Regions from separate parts of the Homo sapiens genome. Here regions 2, 3, 4, 5 and 6 are each linked to region 1. The links are contacts of gene promoters, found by promoter capture Hi-C in blood cells and fetal thymus (Javierre and others, 2016). All regions are on one chromosome and are shown on one strand. The core of a region is centred on a gene start or on the middle of the fragment in contact, and the rest is flanking DNA. Distances in the headings are between cores, read along the strand shown.

Region 1 (5,220 bases), core at 1,935-4,434:
AATGTAATTATGAACACTAAATTGGACACACAAGTAGATACTTGTTTAGAACGAAAAAAGCAGCCAAAAATTACAATCCTTAGGTTTTTTGAAACAGAATCTTTCTCTGTTGCCCACACTGGAGTGCAGTGATGCAATTGCAGCTCACTACAGCCTTGACCTGGGCTCAAGCAATCCTCCCACCTCAGCCTCCCAAGTAGATGGGACTGCAGGCATGCACCACCATGCCCATCTGTTTGTTTTTAACAGCAATGAGGTCTTACTTTGTTGTCCAGGCTGGTCTGGAACTCCTGGTTTCAAATAATCCTCCTGCCTCAGCCTCCCAAAGTGCAGGGATTACAGGCATGACCCCCTGTGCTCAACTAAGTTATAATTTTTAAAAATTATGTCTCAACCGGGCACGGTGGCTCACGCCTGTAATCCCAACACTTTGGGAGGCCAGGGGGTGGGGGGGGGGGTGAGGTCAGGAGTTCGAGACCAGCCTGGTCAACATGGTGAAACCCTGTCCCTAAAAAGTACAAAAATTAGCCAGGCGTGGTGGTGCATGCCTATAGTCCTAGCTACTCGGGAGGCTGAGGAAGGAGAATTGCTTGAACCTGGGAGGCAGAGGTTGCAGTGAGCTGAAGTTGCGCCATTGCACTCCAGCCTGGGCGACAAGAGCAAAACTGTCTCAAAAAAAAAAAAATATATATATATATATACGTATATGTGTGTATATATATATATATATATATATACGTATATATACGTATATATATATACGTATATATATATATATACGTGTATATATATATGTATGTATGTGTGTGTCTCGAACATCACAGCTTCATAGTTCCAGTTAATAACTGATGTAGCTATGCAGTGTCTACGTTTTTCAGTGCATACTGATTATATGAAAATGACTTTGGCTGGGTGCAGTGCTCACACCTCTAATTTGAGCACTTTGGGAGGCCGAGGTGTGTGGATCACCTGAGGTCAGGAGTTCGAGACCAGCCTGGCCAACATGGTGAAACCCTGTCTCCACTAAAAATACAAAAATGAGCCAGGTATGGGGGCGTGCACCTGTAGTCCCAGCTACTCGGGAGGCTGAGGCAGGAGAATCACTTGAACCCGGGAGATGGAGGCTAACATGAGTCAAGATCGCGTCACTGCACTCCAGCCTAGGTGACAGAGCGATACTCCGTCTCAAAAAAAAAAAAAAAAATACTGTTTTCAGTATGTCAGTCTTCAGTTGATCATGCTGGGCGCTGTGGCTCACACCTGTAATCCCAGCACTTTGGGAGGCCGAGGCGGGCGGACCACGAGGTCAAGAGATTTGAGACCATCCTGACCAACATGATGAAACCCCGTCTCTACTAAAAATACAAAAATTAGCTGGGCGTGGTAGCGCATGCCTGTAATCCCAGCTACTCGAGAGGCTGAGGTAGGAGAATCACTTGAACCCGGGAGGCGGAGGTTGCAGTGAGCCAAGCCTGGGCCACAAGAGTGAAACTCCATCTGAAAAAAAAAAAAAAGGTTGCAAGGCCCGGTACAGTGGCTCATGCCTGTAATACGAGCACTTTGGGTGGCTGAAGCAGGTGGATCACTTGAGCCCAGGAGTACAAGACCAGCCTGGACAACGCAGAGAAACACTGTCTCAGGTTTAAAAAAAAAAAAAAGCTGATCAAAATGTTTTTGGTATGTAAGATACAAAAACGTCAAAACAAAGTATTAACAATGTTTTCATAACTATGATGCATAATCCAGTATATTCTTGACAGCAAGCTCCCAATTTGATCAGGAGTCAATGAGAACTGAGTTCTCAAGTTTTACAGCCAACTAGTTTCTATGTTCCCATGCCAAAATAATCTTTTTTTTTTTTTTTTTAGGAGTCTCACTCTGTCCCAGGCTAGAGTGCAGTGGTGCAATCTTGGCTCACTGCAACCTTTGCTTCCTGGGTTCAAGCGATTCTCCTGCCTCAGCCTCCCTAGTAGCTGCAGTTTCAACATTGTAATTTCTACAAGGCGCGTGCCACCATGTCCGGCTAATTTTTTCTATTTTTAATAGAGACAGGGTTTTGCCATATGGGCCAGGCTTGTCTCAAACTTCTGACCTCAAGTGATCTGCCCGCTACGGCCTCCCAAAGTGCTAGGATTACAGGCCTGAGCCGCTGCGCCCAGCCCAAAATCATCTTCGCTTCACTTTTGGTCCTTCACTTTCACGTCATGATTCTATGGCGTGATGGGAATGTTCCTGGAAGCAGTATCTTCTGCAAATTTTGTGAAAACGGCCAGGTTAAACTTTGTTAGACCCCTCTCCCAGGGATTAAGTGTGATGATGGGCATAAAACACTAAGCCTGGCATGTAGTCAGCACTGAGGAGTTATCACGAGGATATTCTAAAAGGAAACATGGTAAAGACAAGTGGTGATGGTGTCTCAGGAAAGAATCCCTGAGTCCCTGAGGAGCATCCTGAAGCAGAATCTCACAGTATGACAGGTTAAAGCTGAATGTGGCTGCTTTAGTTTTGTGTAATTTTGTTAGTCACTTTGCAACATGGAAAAAAATTTTTTTCCTTCAGTATTTTATGAAGTACTACTACATAAATTGGCTTTCGTAATCCTCACAGCAGATGGGGATTGTTGGTACTAGTACATTGTCATTTCACAGAGGAAACCCAAGAGGTTAAATGACTTCCATAGTTGCCAACTAGGGGGAGGCTCCCACTCGCGTCTTGTATTTTGGGCTCCTGATGCTCAACATCTCTTCCCACCACACTCAAGGGTTTTTCTGGAGGAAGAAGTTTCCAAGTCCACAAGTGAGTTTTTTTCCTCTTGGCCAAAATGTGACTTTCAGAATAGAAAAGAGCTCAGGCGCAGAGAAACAGGGAGACTGGAGTCTCATTGAGTTTCCCCATCTTTGTCACCAGAGTAAAAGAAGGCCATTAAGACTTCTGAGATGGAGGAACTGGTCAGGGCCCGGGAACGCCAGAGAACGTCGGAGGAACCGGGAGCCGGGTACCTGGTGTCAGGCCGCCTTGCGCCTTGGAGCCCAGCCCCGCGAACACCTCGCTGTCCCGCCCCGCGCCCACAGGGGCCAATCAGCGTTCAGGGGCGTTCTTAGCCGCCCCCCCCCCCCCGCTTTCCCGCCCCGCGACCCGGAAGTGGTTCTAGGGCAGGCGGGCGGGTTTGAGAGGGCGGGGATTGCGACTCTCACACCCTGAGCTCCGGTGCTCCTTTCCTAACTCCACTGGCTGCGGCATCTGTGGGAAAAGTGTGGCTGGGTCTTCGAGGAGCCGCACCAATGGCTTCCGTGCTGTCCTACGAAAGCCTGGTCCACGCCGTGGCCGGAGCCGTGGTGAGACGGGGTCTTTACGCCCGGGCCGCAACGGGTTATAAGGCTTCTCGGGGGCCAGTCCCGGGATATGCCTGAGGGATGGGTCTGAGAGGGAGGTAGTGTGGGTTGGGGTCCACTGTCATGACTGTGGGGCAGAGAGGAATGGGCCATTGGCGGAAAGTTGTTGGAGGAATTCGGGGTAAGGGCCGAGACTCCGCCACCTCCTGGTCTCCTAGAGACTGCGGGGTAGAGAGCCGTGTTCACACGTGCCCGCTCAGGGTCCGCATCTTTGCCGTGGGAAGTTTAAGGTCAGGCTACCACCGCACACTCACACACTTTGCTTTACTGGCCCGGAGGAGAACGTAGGTGTGAAGCCGTGTTGCTTAGTCACATGCTTCCCTACAGCCTGTCTTCACGCTTGCCGCGGGCAAGTGGCAATACCTAGTAGGATAGCTCTGGGCACCGTTATTGGCAGGAGAAGATAGATCCTTTTTTTTTTTTTTTTTTTTCCGGACAGGGTCTTGCTCTGTTGCCCAAGCTGGAGTGCAGTGGCGCGATCACGACTCACTGCAGCCTCGATCTCCCGGGCTCCAGCGATCCGCCCACCTCAGCTTCCTGAGTAGCTGGGACTGCAGGTGTGAGCCACCACACCCGGCTACATTTTTAAAAAAAATTTTTGGGGTCTGGCAGTGTTGCCCAGGCTGGTCTCGAATTCCTGGCCTCAAACGATCCTCTCGATTTGGCGTCCTAAACTGCTGGCATGAGCCACTGTGCCTGGCTTTTTTTTCTTTCTTTCTAAATCAAGATCTGGGTTCCTGTCTACCACAAGTGTGGTTTGTTATGAGGTATACGCTTGATTCTTGGGCTTCTGGTGTCTAGGTTCCACTTGACACTTCCCCTCTCCCCTCTTTTCCTTAAAACTTTCCACTTTTGGCTTGGGTGACTCCTCTTGTGGTTCTTTTATCTCTTTGACTGCCTTTTCTCATATTCTTCACCAGTTGTTAGCACACACCTTTAGCTGTTAAAATCACTGTGACTTCAGAGGAACATCACTGAATCCTCTGTTTAGCCTCCAGAAACTTCACTGAGAGCTCACCTTCTCTGTAGACTAATCTGGATTTAACCCTAACTCCATCATTTGTTAGCTAGATGCCCTGTAAACCTTACTTTCTTAATCTGTAAAGTGGGGGAAGTGATACCTACCTCACAGAGTTTAGAGAATTAAGTGACACAGCATTTCATGAAAATGCCTAATTCAGGAAGCCTGGTTCATTCAGTTCAGCCAGAAGAGCCTTTCAGCCAGCATGAAGGCTGAGATGGACGCTTGCGTGACTTGCTTTAAGATGGGCATGGAGGCCTGTGTTTCCGGAGTGGAGGGAACAAAGAGGCAAATAGGTTTCAGGGGGCCAAATTGTGTGAGACTTTCACTCTGGCTAGCTGTTGAACTTGCTGATTTACCTTTAAACGTGATCACCCTGGCTGCTGTGTTGAGAGTAGAATGTAAGGGAACAGGGGACAAGCAATTATCAGGCGAGAGATGATGGTGACTTGGATCCGGGTGGTAGCAGACATGGTAGAAGTGATCATTGACCTGGAATATATTTATAAAATGAGGGTTGGTTGACTCCAAGAGTTTTTGGCTTCAGTAACTGGAGGGATGGTGGTATTTACTGGGATGGCAGAGGCTGTGAAGGAGAAGGTTTTGGGGGAAATGATAAATTTGGCTTTGGTTTTGGAGGAGTTTGAAATGCCTAAGAGTAGTCGTGAGACTAGATGAGCTCACTAGGGAAGTGTGTATGGACTGACAGAAGAATCTCAATGACTGAGTCTTGGAGCAGGCTAACCATTAAGAGGCCGAGAAAATAAGATTGCACCAGCAAAGGAGACAAACGAAGGATGGATCAGT
Region 2 (5,220 bases), core at 2,006-4,505, 420 kb before region 1:
TATATGGGTGGGGGGGATAACTTTAATTTTTTTCAAACAGGGTCTCATGTTGCCCAGCTTCTATCTCGGCTCACTGCAGCCTCTACCCCCCGGGCTCAGGTGATCCTCCCAGAGAAACATAATCACAGTGTGACACTCTTATGCCCTCACTAGAATGGCTAAAATACAAAATACAGTACCAAGTTTGGTGAGGATTTGGGGCAACTGGAGTGGCTGGCAGATGTGTAAATTGGTACAACCTTTTTTTTTTTTTTTTTTTTTTTTGAGACAGGGTCTTGCCATGTCACCCAGGCTGGGGTGCAGTGGTGTGATCACAGCTCACTGCAGCCTCGACCTCCTGGGCTCACTTAGTCTTCGTGCCTCAGCCTCCCAAGTAGCTGGGACCATGTCACAAGCCACCACGTTCAGCTTTTTTTTGTAAAGACAGGGTCTCATTGTGTTGTCCAGGCTGGTCTTGAATTATTGGGCTCAAGTGATCCTCCCGCCTCAGCTCACTTAACAGGCATGAACCACCATGCCCGGCTACAGTGCTCTTTCTAATAAACCCATGCTGGAAACAACCCAAATGTCTATCACTAGAGGAATGGGTAAGCTACTTGTGGTACGGTGTGGTACCGAGAAGGTAGGAATGGTCTGCCCAAGAAGAAATATTTTAGCATTGACATTGTTTAGACTTGTCAGCACATGATAATAAAAAGCAGAGACCAACTTTAAGTCAGTTCCATTGTGTCTCACTTCTCCACTGACAGCACACCCGCTTACTGCCTGCATTGTGGGCAGACTGCCTCCCGCCCCTGCCCCATGCCACTGTTGTCATATATTTATAGAATGGAAGGCTGGAATGCTGAATTTAAAAAAAAAATTAAAATAGATGAAGCCGGGTGCGGGCTCACACCTGTAAATCCTAGGACTTTGGGAGGTTGAGGCGGGCGGATCACTTGAGGTCAGGAGTTTGTGACCTGCCTGGCCAATATGGTGAGACCCGTCTCTACTAAAAATACAAAAATTAGCTGGGTGTGGTGGCGGGTGCCTGTAATCCCAGCTACTCGGGAAGCTGAAGCAGAATTCCTTGAACCTGGGAGGCGGAGGTTGCAGTGAGCTGAGATCACGCCACTGTACTCTAGCCTGGGCAACGAGAGCTAGACTCCGTCTCAAAAAAAAAATAAAAAGATGATTCTCACTAACATAATATTGAGTGGAAAACGCCAGACACAGCCAGGTGCAGTGGCTCATGCCTGTAATCCTAACGCTTTGGGAGGCCGAGGTGGGAGGATCACTTGTGCCCCGGAGTTCAAGACCAGCCTGGACAACATAGCAAGACCCCAACTCTACAACAAATTTTAAAACCAGCTGGAGGTGGCGGTGCATATCTGGAGGTCCCAGCTGCTTGGGAGGCTGGTATGTCAAGGCCGCAGTGAGCCATGATCACACTTCACTCACACCTGGGCAACAGTGAGACCCTGTCTCAAAAAAAGGACGAAAGAGCACACTGAAGTTCCATTGATTGGAATTTGCCAAGCAAAAAAAGCACAAAGCAGATGGCTGTGTGGCATGGCACTATTTCTTTTTTTAAAATGTTACTGCAGGGCTGGGCGTGGTGACTCATGCCTGTAATCCCAGCACTTTGGGAGATCAAGGCGGGCAGATCACTTGAGGTCAGGAGTTCGGGACCGGCCTGGCCAACATGGCGAAACCCCGTCTCTACTAAAAATGCAAAAATTAACCAGATGTGGTGGTACACATCTGTCATCCCAGCTACTTGGGAAGCTGAGGCAGGAGAATCGCATGAACCAGGGAGGTGGAGGTTGCAGTGAGCTCCAGCCTGGGCGATAAAGTGAGACTCTGTCTCAAAAAACAAAAAACTCCTGCAGTCTAGGAAAAGTACACACAGATGTTCATTGTTTAACATATATAAATATATATAAACATATACATTTATATTTTTATTATATATAAATATATACACACATAAGTGTATACACACACACATACATATATATATATATATATATATATATATATATATATATATATATATATATGTATATATTTTTTTTCTTTTTTGAGACAGTTTCACTCTGTTGCCCAGGCTAGAGTGCAGTGGCGCCATCTCGGCTCTCGCGTTCATGCCATTTGCCTGCCTCAGCCTCCCAAGTAGCTGGGACTACAGGCGCCTGCCACCACACCCGGCTAATTTTTTGTACTTTTAGTAGAGATAGGGTTTCACTGTGTTAGCCAGGATGGTCTTGATCTCGACCTCGTGATCCACCCGCCTCCGCCTCCCAAAGTGCTGGGATTACAGGCGTGAGCCACCGCGCCCGGCCTTTTTTTTTTCTCTTGAGACAGAGTCTGTGTTGCCCAGGCTGGTCTCAAACTCCTGGGCTCAAGTGATCCTCCCACCTCAGCCTCCCAAAGTGCTGGGATTACAGGCATGAGCCACTGTGCCTGACCCCTGTTTCCAATTAAAGGAACAAACAGTAGAAGATGCAATTCCATCAGAAGCAGGAATCTGAAAAATCAAGATACATGAACATTGGCCATGGTCTGGATGTATTATTTAAAAAACAAACACGAGCTTGGGAAGATGCGTATTTGGATATTCTTTGCAATATTGTTTGTAAATAGCAAAAAATTGGAGGTAGCCAATGTCCAAGATGAATGGCTAAGTCAATGTGATACATTTACACAATGGAATACTATATACCACAGAATAATGAGATTCGGAAGAGTCAATTTGGATAACTCCCAGTAATCTGAGGTTAAGTGAAAAAAATGAGTGTCTAGAATCCTGTGTGTCCAGTATTAAACTATTTATGTCAATGTGTAAGCACAAACGGAAGGAAAGGGTCACCTGTTCTGAAGCACCCACTGTGTGCCAGGTGCGGGCCTGAACCCCCACTGTGACCTCAGAGCTACTTATTAATGGGATGTGTTTTTCAGAGACTAGGAAGCAGCCTCTGGGAGGGCAGCCCACATGGCAGGAGGGAGCCCAGGACTGCTGACTCCCGGGCCAGCTGCTGGTGCCCCCTCCCTGTCGGGCTGGCCCAAGGATTCAGGCCGGGGCCTCAGTCCTCGGCTGGGGCAGGCAGGAGGCCCTGTAACTCCAGCCGCTGCTCCCGCCCGCCGCCCGCCCCTTCTTCACCTCAGCCTGGGGAAGCCTGGCTTGCCTGGTCTGCCGACAATGCCTCCCATTCAGCCCTGTCCCAGCTGCCAGGCCTGCGGGCCGTGGAGGGGGGCTCCTGCCAGGCGGGGACAGCCTGTCCCTGCGCTGCGCCTCCAGGCTGGACCAGCAGTTCCAGGCGGCATGGAGGGGTGAGTCTTTGGGCCCGATGGTGCAAGGGGGGATTCAGAGCAGCTCAGTGGCCTCAGGTAAGTCTCTGCCCCCTCTGGGCCTCTCAGAGGCTGGCGGGCAGGGGCTCTGGGGACTTCCTGGGGTTCTCCAGGAAGGGGGTCTCCCAAGGTGGGCTCTGAGACACGTGGCAATGTGGCCACTGCCAGGAACTGGTCCTCTGGGGCTTGTCTGAGAGCCCAGCAGTGGTCCCTGCATTATGAATGCTTGTCGCTTCAGCGATCTGTCCCCATGGGTCCCCTCCCTGGCCTGCCCTGAGGCACAGCCTTCACCACAGGCTCTGGAGAAGCCACCAACTCCAACGCAGGGGCTGGAGCCTGGGACCCAAAGGAGACTCCAAAACAGACGATAGTCCAGTGAGCAGCGAGGGGGAGGCTCCTGGGGGCCGGGGAACAGCCCAGCGATGGGGGAGAGGCCATGCCTGACACAGGCTGAGAACAGAGGGGCCAGCTGGGCAGGGGAGGTGATCTATCATCCTAGCGCTTTGGGAGGCCAAGGTGGGACAATCACTTGAGGCCAGGAGTTCAAGACCAGCCCGGGCAACATAGCGAGACCCTGTCTCTACCAGAAGTAATTAAAAAATTAGCCAGGCGTGGTGGTGTGTGCCTGTAGTCCCAGCTACTCAAGAGGCTGAGGTGAGAGGATCACTTTAGCCCAGGAGGTGAAGGCTGCAGTAAGCCATAGTCATTCCACTGCACTCCAGACTCCAGCCTGGGCAACAGAGCAAGGCTTGTCTCTATTTAAACAAACAAACAAAAAAAGACTCAAGGACCCGGACTGGATGCCTCCCTCCTTTCTGGGGGGTACCATTATGCTCCTGCCACCTGGGAGCTGGCATCATATCAGTCTGAGGACAGGCTGCTTCCGAGCCTACCCTGGACCAGAGCCTCACCACAGCCTGAGAACATGCTCTGAACTGGAGTCATTCTCACAGTCAGCAAGTCCTCACTGAGCCATTGGGCAGAGGCAAAGGGACTAACCAGGTCACTTTTCTGAGCCTCGGTTTCCTCCCATGTAAAACAGGACTAATCATAGGACCTCCACTGCGTGGGGGGTGGGGGGCAGGGAGGCTCAGGGTGATTGGCACTTTCCTGGGCCCAAAGGAGGAGGCTCTGAGGGGTTTTTGGGGCAGGAGCTGCACCATGGCTGGGACTAAGTGAGGGACAGCATGTGGCCTCGGCCCTTGTGCACAACAGACTCTCCCTCCCCGTCCCAGGCCCCGGAGCTCCACCCATGTCCCCTTGGTGCTGCCGCTTCTTGTACTTCTGCTGCTGGCCCCGGCTAGGCAGGCCGCCGCCCAGCGCTGCCCACAGGCCTGCATCTGTGACAACTCCAGGCGACACGTTGCCTGCCGGTACCAGAACCTCACTGAGGTGCCAGACGCCATCCCTGAGGTCAGCAGGGCAGGAGCACAGGCACAGAGTGGCAGTGGGGCAAGGTGGGGACCCAGAGGGAGGAGCCTGGGCTGGGCACCAGTTGATCTGCCACCGCCTGCCCGGGAGACCTTGGCAAATTACTTCTCTTTGAGCCTCAGTTTACACTTCTGTAAAATGGGAATAATAAAAACCAGTAACAGGGAGATGATCTATTTAAAATCCTTACTGTGTGAATGGAATAAGTAGGTGACCCATAGATCGATACTGAATTCACTGCAGACCCTGTGGTGGAGAGGCGGGCTGTGGCAGGGTGAGGTGTGGTCTCTGCTCTGCAGAGTCATCAGCTAGTGGAGGAGAGAGAGCGAGGAGGCAGGGACAGCACAGTGTGAAAAATGCCACAGTGGGTGATGCCCAGGGCACTGGAGAGGAAGGCTTCCTGGAGGAGGTGTCAGGGGTCGGATGAAGAGAAATATGGGAAAGGTGACAGGAGAAAAG
Region 3 (5,220 bases), core at 894-3,393, 380 kb after region 1:
AGTTATGTGAATATGGGCCCACTCAAAATACTGTAACATTTTTGGACCTTGGTTGGCCTAGAATAACTGAAACCATGGAAAGCGAAACTGCAGATGAGGGGGACTATGTATGCTGTAGCCATTTCACCTATCACCTGTCCTCCACTAGTGGTGCACCACCCTTTGTACATGAAGATGATGTCCTCAAGATGTTCTGGTGAATTGTTCTTCTAGAAGTTGGGTTTGTGCCTTTGGGTTTGTGCCTTACCCTTTGGGGATAGCCAGTGTGGGTTGTTGAGGCAGCAAGTCAGCCAGGGTTTTAGACAGAGAATCTCTGGCTGTGGTACAGAAACTAGCTGGCCTGTAAGTGAATCAAGCCAGTGATTCAACCAAATTACAGCATTTGGTGACAGCAACACCTGAATATATCGACACATATACCATTTGGTTCAGGGCACTCTCACTGGTGTTTCTTCCTTACAAGGGTTCTGAGAGGTGGGCAGATTCTCACTCTGGAAGAAAATTAGACCCAGAAAGCAGTCAAAACCCATGTCACCCAGCAGTAATTGGTAGCACTCAGTACTAGAACACAGATCCCTTGACTGTCTATCCAGAACTTCTGTGAGGTTTCGAACCCGGTTGAGAACCAGAATTCTGGCTGTTTAGATGAAAGTTTAGAGCTCTGCCGCAGAATCCTCCTGTCCTCCTGTCACTAGTCACCTTGTGTCCGTTTCTTACAGAATACTCACTAATTCATCGAGTGAATAATTATTGAGGGTATACTGTGTGCCTGGTATTCTAGGCACTTGGGGAATGCTGTGAGTGACTAAAAAAATAGACAAAACCCTTGCTGTGCTCTGATGGGGACATGTTGTAAATGTAAACGTGGGAGACTGAGAGTAAACAAGAAAAGTATGTAGTATTCCGCCTTTTTTTTTTTTTTTTGAGACGGAGTCTTGCTCTGTCTCCCAGGCTGGAGTGCAGTGGCACTATCTTGGCGCACTGCAACCTCTGCCTCCTGAGTTCAAGTGATTCTCCTGCCTCAGTCTCCTGAGTAGCTGGGATTACAGGCACCCTCTACCATGCCTGTACAAAAATGTTTGTATTTTTAGTAGAGACGGGGTTTCACCATGTTGGCCAGGCTCGTCTCGAACTCCTTACCTCATGATCTGCCCACCTCGGCTTCCCAAAGTGCTGGGATTGCAGGCGTGAGCCACCATGCCCAGCCAGATACGTAGTATTTATATAAAGACTGTCAAGACAGTGATGAGTGCTGCGGAGAAAAATGAGGCAGAAAAGGAAGCTGGGGTGGGGTGGACAGTGTCCGTTTTCTCTTGATTCTTTGTACTTACTGTCTCATGCATGTGCTAAGCTTTCCAAGAGCCAAGGTTACGTGTGATGCATCACACCCGGGTTCCTGCAGAGCAGGACGTTTGGAGTTGAGCTAGCGTTACACAGTAGAAGCAGGTGCAGGGGGTGTCTATTTACCCACTGAAATGCCCACGACCTGCCCATGTAAGAAGTGGGGAATCCTGGATAGTGCCCAGGTAGGTTGGGGAGGTAACTTGTACTGGTTTTTCTTTGATGTTATTTGTTAAATCTAGAGCTCCCCCTTCTGTTAGAAGATGGGATCTCAGTAGTACTTTTAAGACTGTAGTTTCTTTTTTATCTTAAGATTCACAAAAAATTTTTAAAAATAAATACCACTGGGACAATTGAAGCTTTCTTCTGGGACTGCTGTTGCTGAGGCCCAGCCCCCCGCTGGGGGTGGAGAGGAAGGAGGAAGAAGCACAACGGCCCAGGCAGGATAGGGTCCTATCTATGCTCTCTTGCTACTTTTAGCAGCTCCTTAACCCTGCACTCCTACCGCAGCCAGCAGCCTAGCAAAAGTTATCTCTGCTCGCAGTTTCACAGCTCTTTGGAAATTCTAGGGCAGGAGAAGTGAAACTGACCACAGTCTTATAAATTTCTCTCTTATTGCCTCTGTTCCCTACTTGAAGTGAGTCAGGCCTTTCCCTCTCATCCTCAGAGTGTCTTAAGTTGCTATTTGTCCTTACAGCCAAGTTTTTGACAAAAGGAGTCAGACCTTCCATTCATGGTGCAGCCTTTCTGGAGGCTCTTGGTTTGGTCTTGCCACCTGAGTGTTGTTTGCAGAAGTCGAGACTTGTGGTCTTTGTGTGGTATCCCCAGAATAGAGCTGAGCCCTTCGTCTCAGCTGTCGGTTGTGTGTGTTCCTTCACATACAATTGCCATGGGGTTCTTTTAGTCCTTAGAGATGAAATTCAAGTTAATTTTAGCAGCACTATAAATAACAGGTGCAGTGAAGAAGGAAATAGTGCCGAGTGGACATATATCTTTTTGGTTTTAACTGTCCCATTGAAACAGTTTGGCCACTTTATGATTCCTCGTGAGGTTGAGGAAGTAAGGTTAATTTGGCATGCATCTGTGCCCCTTCCTGTGTGCAGGTGTCCTGAGAATAATGTGAGGCCTAGCAGGCGTTCTTGGAGTCCTAGCTGAAGGGGGATTTGCGGCTGACGGTCCAGTCATGGGCCAGGGTGTTTGTTAAAGTTACATTCCATGGGTGCACTTTATATAGCCCAAGCTTAGGCAGTGACAGTTCCCATTAGGAGTCATATTTTGGTTTCTACCAAAACTGTTTGAATGGGGTAGCTAAACCATAAAGATACATGCTTACTCAGGTGTCATTGCCTTCACTTCAACTGATATTTATAGTACTACTAACAGTAATGTGATTTTTTTTTTTTTTTTTTGGGGGACGGTTTCTCGCTCTGTTGCCCAGGCTAGAGTGCAGTGGCGCAATCTCGGCTTACTGCAAGCTCTGCCTCCCAGGTTCACGCCATTCTCCTGCCTCAGCCTCCCTTGTAGCTGGGACTTCAGGCGCCCACCACCACCACGCCTGGCTAATTTTTTGTATTTTTAGTAGAGACAGGGTTTCACCATGTTAGCCAGGATGGTCTCGATCTCCTGACCTCGTGATCTGCCTGCCTCAGCCTCCCAAAGTGTTGGGATTACAGGCGTGAGCCACCACGCCCAGCCAGTAACATGAATTTAAGATGCCTTCTCCACTGAATATCGTAGCACTAGACATGATGCTTCGCTTGAAGGTAATCTTTACGGTTCTTCTCTCAACAGCTTTGAAAAGTCCAGCCGCATTTCATGAGCAGAGAAGGAGCTTGGAGCGGGCCAGGGTAAGGTACCTTTTTTCCCCCTCAGAACTCCCAAAGAGCATTTTCAGAGCTCATTGCATTGCTGGTTATATTTCCATTTAGAGCTTTCCATAGAACTCTGAGGCCAGAGCCTGCTAGACTCTAGGGCCAGCCCTGGCCTTGTGGTTTTAAATGGAAAGCTCTGCTTCTCCTACTTCATCCCTTCTCTCATTTACCTCCCATGGTGATTATATGGAACATGATTGGAATGAGGTTTCTCTTTTTGTACATTTAAGGATATGGAATGATCACCCGATCCTCCTTGCCTGAATTTTGGAGTGCTTTGGAGACCACTGGTATTTCCCCATCTTTAATTCCACTTAACGTTTTGTAGATGTTGGGACACAAACATTAGCCAATGGAAAAGCTTCCCAAGTCCGGGGTTACACTGGCCACACCTCACAGGACGGGCATTCCAAGGGGCAGGAAACCTTCTTGGTCTCCATCTGCCCAGAGTAGGTGGTATCCACTTGACTCTTGTGGAAAGCAGAAACTGGCCCACACTCCAAGCCCAAGTTTTCTGCCACAGCACCTTACTTGCGTCCCCATCCCAACTCTGTTTCGGTTCCCCAGGGGCCCCTGAGGAATATTCTGCTGCCCAGTGTGGGTAGAGATGGGGAAGTCACCAGAACTTGCTTCCCCCTCACACTCCCTTTACTTTTTCCTTTCACATAAAATCATGGGAAGATAATCCCCCTAGACAGATCATGGGCTGCATCTCCTTAAGACCCACGGCTATTTTATTTTACTTTATTTTTTGAGACGGAGTCTCACTCTGTCACCCAGGCTGGAGTGCAGTGGCGTGATCTCAGTTCACCGCAGCCTCCGCCTACCAGATTCAAGCGATTCTCCTGCCTCAGCCTCCCAAGTAACTGGACCTACAGGCTCCCGCCACCACGCCTGGGTAATTTTTGTATTTTTAGTAGAGATGGGGTTTCACCATGTTGGCCAGCCTGGTCTCAAACTCTTGGCCTCAAGTGATCTGCCTGCCTTGCCCTTCCAAAGTCCTGGGATTACAGGCATGAGCCACCACACCCAGCCTCACAGCTATTTTAGAGTCTCAGAAATATTTACCTCCAAGACTTTTTTTTTTTTTTTTTAAACTTTCTTTCATTCCCCTCTCCCCAGAAAATCATGATTAATTCTTAGAGTAAGTGGAAAGAATGAGGTCATGGGTCCTGGGAACCAAAGGAGTAACAAGCAGCAGTGGTTTAGTTTGCTGAGAGCACTGGAGAGTACAGTGTTGGGGGAAAGGATGGCGTTGCCTGTGCGCCTATTCGGTCAGAAGACTGGGCACCATTTACTTGACTGCTTCTCAAATAGGCAGGGACCAGCAGAGCTGATTAGAAGAGACTGTTTTATTGAGCACCTTTATGTAAGAGGTTGTATCTGTTTCTTTTTTATCCTCACATCAACTCTTATGAATTAGGTGGTATTATCCTCATTTTATAGATGCAGCTAAGAGAAGTTAACTCACTTGTCCAGCCAATAAGTGGCAAAGCTGGGAGTCAAACCTTTGTGGATTCTAGATTTTTTTTGAGCAAAATGATTTTATTTCCTAACACATGGTAACCATAACGTTCAATTTGCTTACCATGCACATCTATTCACAAATGACTTCCACATTACAATAACTACTTCCATATTTACACATGTACTAAAAATTATCTTAGTTGAGATATGAAACATGAATATATTGGATTGGTTATAGCAGAATTTGCTTTACTTAATTCTAAAAGCTTAAAGCTTTGAAAAGCTGCTACTTTTGCATCTCATACTTCCAGATGAATAAGACACAGCAATATCAGCTCGTATTCAAGAGAAGTTTCATTTCTTTTTCTGGTGTTGGAACCAGCTGCTCACATCTGTGCGTGCTACATAAGGCAGCTATACATGGTGGTGGGAAAGCATCCACAATGGCTTCAGCTATGTCAGGATCACACTTGAGGGGCTCTGAGATGCTGTTGTATTTACACAACTGATTGCTTTGTTTTCCTTTTTTTGTAATTTTAGA
Region 4 (5,220 bases), core at 2,199-4,698, 350 kb before region 1:
CTGGTCTCAAACTCCTAAGCTCAAGTGATCTGCCTGCCTCAGCCTCCCAGAGTGCTGGGATTACAGGTGTGAGCAGGTACAGCAGGCTGAGCACCAATGAGACTGGCGAATGCTGAGTTAGTTTCACCACCATACGCCTCCTGTTCCTTTTCCTGCTTTACCTCTTTGGTCTCTTGAGACTGACTATAAATAGAACTGAAATGCACATCCTGTGATTTTTTTCTCCTTCATTCAGTAACTCCTTCAGAGTAACAATGGTCTGGGTGAGGTATAGCACCATGCACAGTGGACATTTTGCCTCAAGGCAGTCTACTTTAAGATGCAATCCATGGTTTAACCTCAATCTAATTACAACAAACCAGACAAATCCAAATATGGAGACAGTATGAAAAACAACTGGCCTGGACTCATGAAGGTCCCCTATGCAACTTTCCTGTGTAACTTTTCCTACAGGTTTGGAAGGGAATGGAATGGATAAAAAATCTTAGTCTTTGTTGACAAAGCAATAAAATTCTTGTTCATTGAAGTTTGAAAAAACTTGTAACAACCATCAATTCTCATAACCATTAGTGTAAAAGGTATAAAAAGCTGGTATTACATATGTATTTGACATTAATTAGTATATAACTATAAACACCTATTAAAGTAATAAAATGTAAAACATCCCCTTAAGAAATTAGGAACTTGTGAGAAACTGCTGTACTGATAACAGATTATTCAACATCTGTGCACACTGGCAGCCACACTCACAGTCTCTGGCCAGCAATGTTCGCTGCTTCTGTCACCCTACAACCAGGCCAATACTTGGATTTACAACCTAAATTTAAACAGCCATGGAATGTGTCCACAATTTAAGTCAAACCTATTACAATATATTCTAAGGGCTTTTCCCAACTGCCTAGGATTCTGTGGCATTACTTACTGCTTGAAATAGCTAGTAACTATTAATTGTTAATAATCATTACCTAACGTATTAGAACTCAGGAATCCTTCCATTTCACTAGCATGGCTGAGATAATGGTTATTACCATTATTACATCGTAGCCCATTATTCTAGGCTAACAAAAAAGGGGTGGTGATGGGGGGAGCAGTGGGGGAAAAGATACTTTGAACACCTATGTATATAGGTGTTCACCATGATAACATCATTATAACAAATTCCTCTCTAAAAAAGATTTTGTTAACTATTTCTCTCCCAAAGAGACTGTTTAACCAATTTTTAGGTACGGAATTACAACCTGAAATCAAGCCTTCATTTCCCTCTCAACTTAATTACCACTTCCTATAAGAACTTGATTATATGTCTGAGAACCGAGATAGTAAAATGAGGAGTCTGACTGAACAATCGAGATTACTACCATTGGACAAACCCTGAGAGGAATTACTCTTCAATTCTCCTGGCTTTCGTTATCAATTATATGATATTAAAGAGAGAAAAAAAAAACCTTACCCAGTTATTTTCCCAAATGACTGCAAGAACAACTAAACAATGTAAATGATGAAATAACTCAAAAAGTTTTGAGAAGGGGGTTGTAAGTCCATATGTGGAAGTTTAACTTTTCTCCAATTCTATTTACTAATTCACTTTCAGAAAGGTTAAATCTTTTTATTTTTTGAAACAGAGTCTCGTTCTGTCACCCAGGCTGTAAGTGCACTGCAACCTCTGCCTCCCAGGTTCAAGTGATCCTCCCACCCCAGCATCCCAAGGATTACAGGTGTGTGCCACCACGCCAGGCTAATTTTTGTATTTTTAGTAGAGACGGGGTTTCGGTTCGCCATGTTGGCCAGGCTGGTCTCCAACTCCTGACCTCAAGTGATCCGCCTGCCTCAACCTCCAAAGTGCTGGGATTACAGGCATGAGCCACCACGCCCAGCGAACAGTCAGTGTTTTTATTCATTTCTTATTTCTTTTTCTGAGGTGGAGTTTCGCTCTTGTTGCCCAGGCTGGAGTGCAATGGAGTGACCTCGGCTCACTGCAATCTCCGCTTCTCAGGTTCAAGCAATTCTCCTGCCTCAGCCTCCTGAGTAGCTGGGATTACAGGCATGTGCCACCATGCCCAGCTAATTTTGTATTTTTAGTAGAGCAAGGTTTCACCGTGTTGGTCAGGCTGGTCTTGAACTCCTGACCTCAGGTGATCCACCCGCCTTGGCCTCCCAAAGTGCTGGGATTACAGGTGTGAGCCACCATGCCTGGCCAGAAATCTTGCCGTTTTTCCCCAACTCTGGGTGGCTGCATCTTACCTCTTTATGCTTCTCCATGGTGGCATATAGTTTCTGTGAGAGGTCGTTAGATACATTGGGCATCCCGGGTTTCTTCTTGTTGCCCCTACTCAGGCTGCTCTTATTTTTGCTGGTTTTCTTATTATTCTTCTTTTTAGCATTTTTGCTGTCTCCCTTGGTCACCTGCAGAGTAGCACAAAGGAGACAAGAAAATAAGGTTTTTGTTAAGTAATTTGGGAATAGCACAGAATATCTCCCTTCTTTGAAACTAGATATCATAATCTTATGCCTGTAACTTATTTTACTAGCTGTTCTCTTCACTTATTCTTTCTCCTTAAAGTTGTTATTTGACCTAATTTTCTCCCAGTGATCTTTAAGGCAATGGCAGCCCTTTAGCTTTTTGCCTAGAAGAGGCCACAGAATGTGCAGACCCTGTAGATTGATTGAATGTATCCCAGATTGGGGCTAGGGAACAAGGAAGGGGTGGCACTTTGGGGTAGTGAAGAGTGTATCAAAGTGGGGAGCCAGAAGACCTTGGTTTTATTTCCTTCCACTCATATTCTAAAATGTTATGAGCCTACAAATACTAAATGACAAGGCTGTAAGAGTTTGTTAACAGACTATTTAAGGGTGCCTTTTGTTAAGTTAAATTCAATGGAGGTAATTCGAGATATGCTATGGGGAAATAACTGGTGAGGTTACTAAGCCAGGCTTAGTAACTTAAATTCTGGCTCAGGCCTATTTTGTATAGCTAAGAATGGTTTTTTACATTTAAAAAGAGTGTGTTTTTAAAAGACAGAAAATATGCCAGAGATATGTGACCCACAAGGCCTATAATATTCATAACCTAGTCCTTCAGATAAGTAATCTTCTATCAGTTTTTCAGGATTTCCTTCAGTTTCTTTTATCATTTCACATTACTCAAAGTCTGAGATGCCATTTTAAAAGGGGCTCTGATGCTTTAAAAGTTTAATACCACTGAAACAGAACCCTAATAACCTCTCTAAGCCAATATTTCTTGTCCAACTTAAAGAGCTCTTTTACACCTGAAAGCTTTAAAACCCAATTGAAAGTTTAAGTGCACTTCTGGATTAAATATTAGAATCATGATAGAAGTTTCAAAGGAAACTCAATGCCCTTACATCTGTGCTTTCATTGCTGGTGTTTTCCTCTCGTTTTCTCTCTTCTTCCTCCTGTTCCAGTTCCTTAATGCTTTCTTCCAGAACATTGGGCCAGAAATCACCCTCGAAATAAGGCAATTCCTTTGCACTTGTTAATCTATCTTCAGTAGCTTGTTTAAAAATATCCTGTGAAAACATGCATGTACATATAGGAATTTCTATGTTCTTTTAAAGCATTGATTATACAGAATAATCATGGCTGACAAGAAACATGAAAGCTTAAAATGTCTTGAAAGCTGGCAGAGACTTTATACCTAAGCCGTAAGCCAGGGAGTATTTAGAAAAATAAATAGTGAAAAGGCCTGGCCTAAAGTCAATATTTCCGGTTTTCTATTTCTTCTACCCACAAAAACAGGGAGCTTATCTGCCTTTATATAACCAAGTGGCAATTATCCTGCCAGGATCAACGTCAGGGTGGTAGCACCATCATGCATGCCATGGCCCCTACCACTCCTTATCACAGAATATGTGGTATGAAGCATGCCCTCCTCACACCCATCCTTGGAATTTCAGCAGCTTTTACTGACAGCTTTGTTCAAAATGACCAAAACTACAAATACTGGAAATAGTATCTGCTGCAGAATGATTTGCTGGGCTGCTTAGGAAAACTTCTTTATTTAGTTGAACTACTAAATTGAGGAAGACAAGTCTGTATCATGAGACAACCTATATTTATGAATAACATAATACTGTTAATTAAGAATATATTTTTGGCCAGGTGCAGTGACTCACACCTGTAATCCCAGCACTTTGGGAGGCCGAGGCAGGTGGATCACCTGAGGTCAGGAGTTCGAGACCAGCCTGACCAATGTGGAGAAACCCCGTCTCTACTAAAAATAGAAAAAATTAGCCTGGCTTGGTGGTGCATGCCTGTAATCCCAGCTACTCGGGAGGCTGAGGTAGGACCATCACTTGAACCCAGGAGACTGCACCATTGCACTCCAGCCTGAAACTCCGTCCAAAAAAAAAAAAGGGAGAATATATTTTTGGCTGGGTGATGTGGCTCATGCCTATAATCCTAGCACTTTGGGAGGCTGAGGTGGGCAGATCACTTGAGCTCAGGAGTTTGAGACCAGCCTGGGCAACATGGTGACATCCTGTCTCTACAAAAAATATACAAAAATCAGCTAGCTCTCGTAGTGTGCACCTAGTCCCAGCAACTCAGGAAGCTGAGATGGGAGGATGGCTTGAGCCTGGGAGGCACAGGTTGCAATGAGCGGGTATCATGCCACTGCACCCTAGCCTGGGTGACAGAGAGTGACCCTTTCTGAAAACAAAACACCCACACCCCTAAAACCCTAACCAACCCAAACCAAACCAACAAAAAACCAAAACAAAAAGATATATTTTAAGGCCGGGCACAGTGGCTCATGCCTGTAATCCCAGCACTTTGGAATGCTTGAGGCCAAGAGTTCAAGTCCAGCCTGGGCAGCATGGCGATACCCCAACTCTATCCCCACCCTCCCCCCAAAAATAAATAAAATAAAATTTTGGTTACATGTTTAAAACAGGGATTTCTTGATCTACCGCTCTTCAAAACCTGGTTTTTCTTATATTGAAAAATTTTGAATATACAAAATAAAAGCAATCAAATTAGCATTTTTAGGAATTACATGCAAGAGGTAGAACAAGCAAGACTTTTGTTTAAAAAAAAAAAAAAAAGGCTGGGCACGGTGGCTCATGCCTGTAATCCCAGCACTTTGGGAGGCCAAGGCGGGCGGATCACAAGGTCAGGAGATCGAGACCATCCTGGCTAACACGGTGAAACCCCGTCTCTACTAAAAATACAAAAAAATTTAGCCGGGTGTGATGGCAGGAG
Region 5 (2,500 bases), core at 1-2,500, 340 kb before region 1:
ATATTCTCTTATCCCAGTCACCACTATATTATTCTAGGTATCCCAGAAAAGTTAAAGTCAAATCTGAAACACATTTCTTACCTTTCTGCCACAACAGTATCCAAGGCTTTGCATCACTGGGTCAATTTCTTGTTCAAAGACCTCAGAGAGCTTGGAGCAGTATTTGTATACCCGTGATGTTTTCCGGTTATATAACCAGGCATTATTGAACATAAGCCAAATATCATCGACATACTGCCAGGGCTCCTGATACTGTCCAGTGTCTAACTTCCTCTTAATGGTAGAAAGATCCATGGGGCTCTTCACAATATCAAAGTAATCCTAGAAAGACAAGTGACATCAAACATTACTCAAGTCTCACTATTTTTACGGGAGATGGAGTATCATCCATTATCATTGTTAATTTTCCAGGCAGTGTTTTAGTTTCTGGCCTGTCTATATTCCCCAAGAGGTGACTGATGTCCATCACTTCTTTAAATATTAGTTTACAGAGATATTAAACTACTCAAAGGGCAGAGAAACAGAACTACTATGGACTTTCTAGACATCAGGCTGATATTCTACTGAAGCAACTTCAGGTTCTTTATGAAAGTACATGTGAGATCAGTAAAGTCAAAGACATTTAAAATTTTAGTACTAGAAGGGGTGTACAATGAGGAAACTAAGCCCACAGAACTTAAAATGTTCCATCTGAAATCACAGCAAGATACAAGAGAGGAAAAGTCCTAAAAGGCTTTTGCCCCTGGAAGCACTTGACCTTTGAGATGGAGTCTCTGTCAACATGTTGCCCAGGCTGGAGTGCAGTGGTGCAATCTTGGCTCAGTGCAACCTCTGCCTCCCAGGGTCGTTCAAACTATTCACCTGCCTCAGCCTCCCAAGTAGCCAGGATTACAGGCGTGCACCACCACGCCCAGTTACTTTTTATATTTTTAGTAGAGATGGGGTTTCACCATGTTGGTGAGGCTGGTCTCCAACTCCTGAACTCAAGTGATCTGCCTGCCTTGGCCTCCAAAAGTGTTGGGATTACAGGCGTTAGCCACCGTGCCCGGCCAAGTAACAGTTTAAAACCACCAAATGAAATCTGCCAGCAGCCTAGTATATGGAGGCAACTTTAAAAACAAAGCTAACCACGGTCCTTTTTTCTGCTATGACCTATTGCTCTTGAAACAACGAAAGTGGCCGGGTGCGGTGGCTCACGCCTGTAATCTGGGCATTCTGGGAGGCCGAGGTGGGTGGATCATCTGAGGTTGGGAGTTTGAGACCAGCCTGACCAACATACAGAAACCCCATCTCTACTAAAAATACAAAATTAGCCGGGCATGGTGGCACATGCCTGTAATCCCAGCTACTCGGGAGGCTGAGAGGTAGGAGAACTGCTTGAACCCGGGAGGGGGAGGTTGAGGTGAACTGAGATTGCGCCATTGCACTCTAGCCTGGGCAACAAGAGTGAAACTCCATCTCAAAAAAACAAAAAACAAATAACAACAACAAAAAAGTAAACAAACTATATAACCCAGGAATTCCACTCCTAGGTAAATACCAAGGAGAAATAAAAACTTAAATCCACACAATGTTCACTACAGTCCTATCTTAATAGTCAAAACGTGTAAACAACCTAAATGTCTATCAACTCATCAACAGGTAAAGAAAAATAATGGAATATTATTGGGCTATAAATAGGTATGTGCTACTGATTCATGCTACAACATGGATGAACCTTGAAAACATTATGCTAAGGAACGTCCTGGCACAAAGAATCACATACTGTATGTTCCAATTTAATGAAACATGTAGAACAGACAAATCCAGAGACAGAATGCAGTCTGGTGATGTCTAGGATTGGGGTGCTATGGGAGAAAATAGTGAGTGACTGTTAATGGTAAAGGATTTTTTTCAGATGATGAAAATGAAAGTGTCATGCACAACTCTGTGAATATACTAAAACTCCCTGAATTAGGCCAGGCCCAGTGGCTCACACCTGTAATTCCAGCACTCTGGGAGGCTGAGATGGGCCTATTGCTTGAGTCCAGGCGTTCAAGACCAGCCTGGGCAACATGGCGAAACCCCGTCTCTACTAAAAAATACAAAAAACTAGCCAGGTGAGGTGGCACATGAATGTAGTTATCCCAGCTACTCAGGATGCTGAGGTGGGAGAATCACCTGAGCCCGGGAGGTGGAGACAGTAGTGAGCCACGATCGTGCCACTGCACTCCAGCCTAGGCAACCAGAATAAGACCCTGTCTCAGGGGGAAAAAAAAAAAATCACTGAATTACAAATTTGAAATGAGTGGCTATACTGTTTGGAATGTGAATTATCTCTCAATAAAGCTGTTATCAAATTAAAAAATAAAATCAAAAGTACCACCAAATACTTACAGGGATTCCTAAAAGCTGAGGGTCCACAGGTTGACGAAAGGGAAGGGATTCTGGATCCTGACGGTAAAGTGCCTCCAAAGTTGGCATCAGTGCCTGTCGTAGTTCTTCTGGTTTGAAAACTTAA
Region 6 (5,220 bases), core at 1,681-4,180, 310 kb before region 1:
TTCATCACTTACGCTGTTGATTTCTCTTATCACCAGCATTTTTGAGGGGGAGACACACAGGACAATCATGTCTTGTACAATTCTTCCAGTGTGAAATGATTTGTCGAGAAGATGCACAGTGTGCCACTAAAGAGAAGAAAACATATTTTTTCAAGAGCAGGTTAATGTTTTTACATTAATAATAGCTAACTTGTTGACCACTTAATAAGTAACATAAATGCATTAACTTATTTCATCTTCCTAACAGCCCTATAAGGTAGCTCCTATTAATACTCAGAATTCACAGTCAAGAAAGGCAAAAAGAATGGGTAAGCAATTTGCACAAAGTCACAGAGTACTCAAAGTGAGATTCAACCTCAAGCAGTCTGGCTTAAGAGCCCTCATTTTTCACCATGCTATACACAACCTACTTTATTCTAAGCAAATGTACTCTAAACCAATGTTATGACACACATGCCTATAAGAACACTTTTTAATGACTTCATACAAATTGTATTAGATCGGGTAAAAATGACTGCAGTAAATTGTATTAAATTGAACACTTGCCTACATGACAGTTAGCAAACCCTCAATAACATTTAAAGTATGCTATGCTAGGGCAAATAAAAATCAAAGTCTATGAGGATCACCACATGGGAAGACCTTTAAAATTTATTCTCTTCTCACATCCTTAGATACTTGCTCACAAAAACGATAGTGTGTTTTGGCCGGGCGCGGTGGCTCACGCCTGTAATTCCAGCACTTTGGGAGGCCGAGGCGGGCGGATCACGAGGTCAGGAGATAGAGACCATCCTGGCTAACACAGTGAAACCCCGTCTCTACCAAAAATACAAAAAAAATTAGCCGCCATGGTGGCGGGCGCCTGTAGTCCCATCTACTCGGGAGGCTGAGGCAGGAGAATGGCATGAACCCAGGAGGCGGAGCTTGCGGTGAGCTGAGATCACACCACTGCACTCCAGCCTGGGCGACAGAGCGAGACTCCATCTCAAAAAAAAAACTGTGTTTTTATCATTTCCTAAAATAACGTCACTATCAGTAAAGGAGTCTCAAAATTGATTTTGTTTATGGCAGCTTTATTCGTAATTGCCACAGAATGGACGCAGCCAAGACGACCTTTACCGAGTGAGTTAACTGTGATGATGCATTTAGACAATGGAATTTTCTAAATGCTTTGGGGTATAAATATTTTTTAAATTGCACATATTGGCCAAGCGTGGTGGCTCACGCCTGTAATCCTAACACTTTGGGAGGCCAAGGCGGGTGGACCACAAGGTCAGGAGATTGAGACGATCCTGGCCAACACGGTAAAACCCCGTCTCCACTAAAAATACAAAAAATTAGCCGGGCATGGTGGTAGGCGCCTGCCTGTAGTCCCAGTTACTTGGGAGGCTGAGGCGGGAGAATGGCATGAACCTGGAAGGTGGAGTTTGCAGTGAGCCGAGATTGTGCCACCACACTCCAGCCTGGGAAACAGAGCGAGACTCTGTCTCAAAAAACAAATAAATAAAATAAAATAATTTTAAAAAATTACACATATGTACACTGTTTTTTTTTTGAAACAGGGTTTGGTTCTATCGTCCAGGCTGGAGTGCAGTGGTATGATGTCGAATCACACCAACCCCTGCCCTCTTGGGCTCAAGCCATCCTCCCACCTCAATCTCCCAAGTAGCTGGGACTACAGGAACACACCCAGACATCTGGCTGATTTTCTTTAGTATTTTTTTGTAGAGACGAGGTTTCACCATATTGCCCAGGCTGGTCTTGAACTCCTGACCTCAAGTGATCTGCCCACCTCAGTCTCCCAAAGTGCTGGGATGACAGGCATGAGCCACTGCGCCCAACCTTTTTTAAAGACATGGTCTCACATTGTCACCCAGGCTGGAGTACAGTGGCGCAATCATAGCCCCCTGCAGCCTTGACTTCCTGGGCTCAAGCAATCCTCCTTCCTCAGCCTTCTTAGTCCCTCAGCTAGGACTACAGGTGCATCATCATGCCCGGCGAGGTCTTGCTATGTTGTCCAGGCTGGTCTCAAACTCCTGGCCTCAAGCAATCCTCCCCATTTGGCCTACCAAAGTGCTGGGATTGTAAGTGTGAGACACCACACCTGGTCTAATGTATACATTTTGGTGACTTTGTACATACAGACACCATCACCACAATTAAGGTATTAAACATATCCATCACCACAAAATAGACTTGATCACATTTTCCTTCTTCTCCCTGGCTGTAAAAATTGCTAAGTACAGTAACCCTGTGGGTCCACTTACCTTGGCAAGACTTGCCTGACTGGCAGTGTGTCATGTGGTTTAGGACATTCTTCATTGTGCGACAGTGGGGAAGGTTGCACTGCCTCACTTCCCCATTGGCCTGTTCCCGGCGCTGGCACTTGTGAGCATGCAAAAGGAGAACAAGCTGCTGCTGGATGAGCTTGCGCTTCTCTGGATCAGCTGTATGTGCTCCAGAACCCATCCCTTGGGCAACTGGAGTCACCAGGCCTGGCTGCTGGACCTGCGGGGCTGGCTGTTGACCCTGAGAGATATAACAATATATTTAATGGTAGGAGTCATAATGTGCTATTTCTTAATAAATAGAGATGTGGATATTTTCAATGAAAACCTTTATGGTTAGTCTACTATAAGCCAGACTCCATTTTTTGACACAGGGAATGCATAAACCATGGCTCCTACCTTTAAGAAGCTCAATTTAATAAGAAAAAAAATGACATTACGAAGTGATATAAGTATGTATAATACACAGAGAGCAAAAGCAGAGAGAAGGACATGGTAAACTCCAGCGGGAGAGGGAAGGGTGAGAGGGTGTCTGTAGTTAAAAGCACACCCAAATTAGGTTTTAAAGAGCAATGAAGAACTCCTCAAGAGACTCAGCAGAGGGGTCTTTCGGGTTGGTGAAAAACTAGTTTTTCTAAACTCTGGGATAAATTTAGTTTTTTAAATTAAAAAGTGAAGATTTCAGGCCGGGCGCGGTGGCTCACGCCTGTAACCCTAGCACGTTGGGAGGCCGAGGCAGGCGGATCACCTGAGGTCGGGAGTTCGAGATCAGCCTGACCAACATGGAGAAACCCTGTCTCTACTAAAAATACAAAGTTAGCCGGGCATGATGGCACATGCCTGTAATCCCAGCTACTCAGAAGGCTGAGGCAGGAGAGTTGCTTGAAACCAGGAGGGAGAAGTTGCAGTGAGCCGAGATCGTACCACTGCACTCCAGCCTGGGCAACAAGAGCTAAACTCCGTCTCAAAAAAAAAAAAAAAAAAAAAAAAAAAAAAAAGTGAACATTTCTCGGGACAGAGATGACATGTTTCATTCATCTGTATAACTCCAGTACTTGGCAGAGTATCTCAAATATAGGCAGTCCATAAACATAATGACACAAAGGACAAAACTAAAACATCTGAAAGAGGATTTTTTCAGACAATGTTTTTCCAAAGTTGAATGCAGACACATTTACTACTAGTAGTTTGACTGTACAAAAATAACACTAGAAGTTCCTGAAAATTTTATTTAACAAAAATTGCTGTTTAAAACAATACATTACTTTTGAGAGGGAATTTACTTGGGTGTAGTAGAATCAAATAATATTGGTAAATATGGTCACTGAGAGTTCGGATCCTTTGCCAGAGATTCCTTCCCCCAAAAGTGAAAGGTTCCGCTTTCGTATCGTATGGAAACGCTCACAAGACCAAGTTGCTGAATGGCAGGCCCCTAAAACTTCATTGTAGCAGTTCACTTACTCCTGTTTGGATCAACATGCTCACTGATCAATAACCACATGGAACAAAAAAAACAGAGAAATGGAAAGGAAGCACAAGCCTCCTCACAGGGATCATCAAGTACATATCAATTTAGGCTCCTAGTGGGTACAAATCCCAGCATATATAACAGAAGGGTGAAAGTTTAACACAATTCTTTTGTCAAAATGCCAGTTTGAAAACAAGTCTGTAATGGATTAGTACTCACCATGTTGGGCATTCCTCCACCAGGAACTGCCTTTTTGTCCATAGCAAATGGAGATAAGTTATTTGATAGTACAGTTTTTGTCTGAATCTGGAGACCAAGGCCACTGGCTCCAATCTGCTGTCCAGGATTCTGAGTATATGGTGAACCATAAGGATTGGGGTTGTTCATCATTCCCATCTAAGAGTAAGAAACAAAAGAAAACAAAATAAGCAATAAAATTTAAGACATTATTATTCCTTTTCTGATTTCACTTCCAAGTTCACAAAGACAGTTTCAAAGGAAATTCTCAGCTTCTATTAGAAAAGACACTACAGCTTGGGCAACGTGACAAAACCCCATCTCTACTAAAAAATACAAAAATCTGGACATGGTGGCGCAAGCCTATAGTCCCAGCTAATTGGAAGGCTAAAGTGGGATTATCAGTGAAGCCTGGGAGGTAGAGGTTGTAGGGAGCCATGATGGCAAAAAACCAAGTGGCCGGGCCTGGCGACTCATACCTGTAATCCCACCACTTTGCGAGGCCAAGGCAGGAGGGTTTCTTGAGGTCAGGAGTTTGACAACAGCCTGGGGAACATGGTGAAAACCCATCGGTACCAAAATACAAAAAAAAAACCCCAAAAAACAGCCGGGCGCAGTGGCTCACACCTGTAATCTCAGCACTTTGGGAGGCCGAAGCGGGAGGATCATGAGGTCAGGAGATAGAGACTATCCTGGCTAACATGGTGAAACCCCGTCTCTACTAAAAATACAAAAAATTAGCCGGGTGTGGTGGCGGGCGCCTGTAGTCCCAGCTAGTCGGGAGGCTGAGGCAGGAGAATGGAGTGAACCCGGGAGGCGGAGCTTGCAGTGAGCCGAGATCACGCCGCTGCACTCCAGCCTGGGCGACAGAGTGAGACTCCATCTCAAAAAAAAAAAAAAAAAAAAAAAAGGAAAGAAAAGCTGGATGTGGTGGCATGTGCCTGTGGTCCCAGCTACTCAGGAGGCTGAGGTAGGAGGATCACCTGAGCCTGGGAGGTTGAGGCTGCAAGTAAGCCATGATCAGGCCACTGCACTCCAGCCTCGGCAACAGAGTGAGACCCTGTCTCAAAAACAAACAAACAAAAAAAACCCACTATACAAAGTATGCTAACAACAATACATTTTCAAGATTAAGATCAAAATTAAGATTTAGGGGCCTTGGGTATGGTAAATGTACAGAGTTATTTTCATAAATATTTGAAATAAAGATGTTTTAGAAATACTTTT

Evidence for each region. The method cuts DNA at HindIII sites, captures the fragments that hold promoters and counts their contacts. A CHiCAGO score of 5 or more calls a contact.
Region 2: a contact is called between the fragment with the promoter of CHADL here and the fragment with the promoter of SLC25A17 in region 1, in 5 of 17 cell types (neutrophils, monocytes, M1 macrophages and 2 more). The highest score is 12.4, in neutrophils.
Region 3: a contact is called between a fragment that was not itself captured here and the fragment with the promoter of SLC25A17 in region 1, in 1 of 17 cell types (naive B cells). The highest score is 5.4, in naive B cells.
Region 4: a contact is called between a fragment that was not itself captured here and the fragment with the promoter of SLC25A17 in region 1, in 5 of 17 cell types (M2 macrophages, M0 macrophages, M1 macrophages and 2 more). The highest score is 13.1, in M2 macrophages.
Region 5: a fragment that was not itself captured here is called in contact with the fragment with the promoter of SLC25A17 in region 1 in 5 of 17 cell types (M2 macrophages, M0 macrophages, M1 macrophages and 2 more); the score reaches 16.3 in M2 macrophages.
Region 6: a fragment that was not itself captured here is called in contact with the fragment with the promoter of SLC25A17 in region 1 in 1 of 17 cell types (M2 macrophages); the score reaches 7.8 in M2 macrophages.

The regions. Positions count from the first base shown.
Region 1 is chr22:40,817,310-40,822,529 of GRCh38, reverse strand. It overlaps SLC25A17 (solute carrier family 25 member 17), which reads left to right and starts at 3,184. Exons shown (of 9, transcript NM_006358.4): 1 at 3,184-3,335. The coding sequence starts at 3,282. RefSeq lists an enhancer at 5,152-5,211. The HindIII fragment of the contact is 13,078 bases long and covers 1-5,220 here.
Region 2 is chr22:41,238,966-41,244,185 of GRCh38, reverse strand. CHADL (chondroadherin like) reads left to right here and starts at 3,255. Exons shown (of 6, transcript NM_138481.2): 1 at 3,255-3,312; 2 at 4,566-4,743. The coding sequence starts at 3,305. RefSeq lists enhancers at 2,651-3,151, 3,152-3,652, 5,102-5,220. The HindIII fragment of the contact is 52,914 bases long and covers 1-5,220 here.
Region 3 is chr22:40,433,467-40,438,686 of GRCh38, reverse strand. It overlaps MRTFA (myocardin related transcription factor A), which reads left to right. Exons shown (of 15, transcript NM_020831.6): 5 at 3,133-3,188. Among named protein-coding and RNA genes, the nearest start is that of SGSM3, 65 kb to the right of the region's middle. RefSeq lists enhancers at 1,657-1,706, 1,777-1,826, 1,947-2,076, 2,337-2,396. The HindIII fragment of the contact is 881 bases long and covers 1,703-2,583 here.
Region 4 is chr22:41,170,806-41,176,025 of GRCh38, reverse strand. It overlaps EP300 (EP300 lysine acetyltransferase), which reads right to left. Exons shown (of 31, transcript NM_001429.4): 28 at 3,363-3,527; 29 at 2,242-2,403. Among named protein-coding and RNA genes, the nearest start is that of EP300-AS1, 24 kb to the left of the region's middle. The HindIII fragment of the contact is 346 bases long and covers 3,276-3,621 here.
Region 5 is chr22:41,154,990-41,157,489 of GRCh38, reverse strand. EP300 (EP300 lysine acetyltransferase) reads right to left here. Exons shown (of 31, transcript NM_001429.4): 17 at 2,377-2,495; 18 at 82-321. Among named protein-coding and RNA genes, the nearest start is that of EP300-AS1, 41 kb to the left of the region's middle. The HindIII fragment of the contact is 4,528 bases long and covers 1-2,500 here.
Region 6 is chr22:41,124,796-41,130,015 of GRCh38, reverse strand. It overlaps EP300 (EP300 lysine acetyltransferase), which reads right to left. Exons shown (of 31, transcript NM_001429.4): 3 at 3,976-4,152; 4 at 2,268-2,529; 5 at 13-126. Among named protein-coding and RNA genes, the nearest start is that of EP300, 35 kb to the right of the region's middle. The HindIII fragment of the contact is 7,598 bases long and covers 1-5,220 here.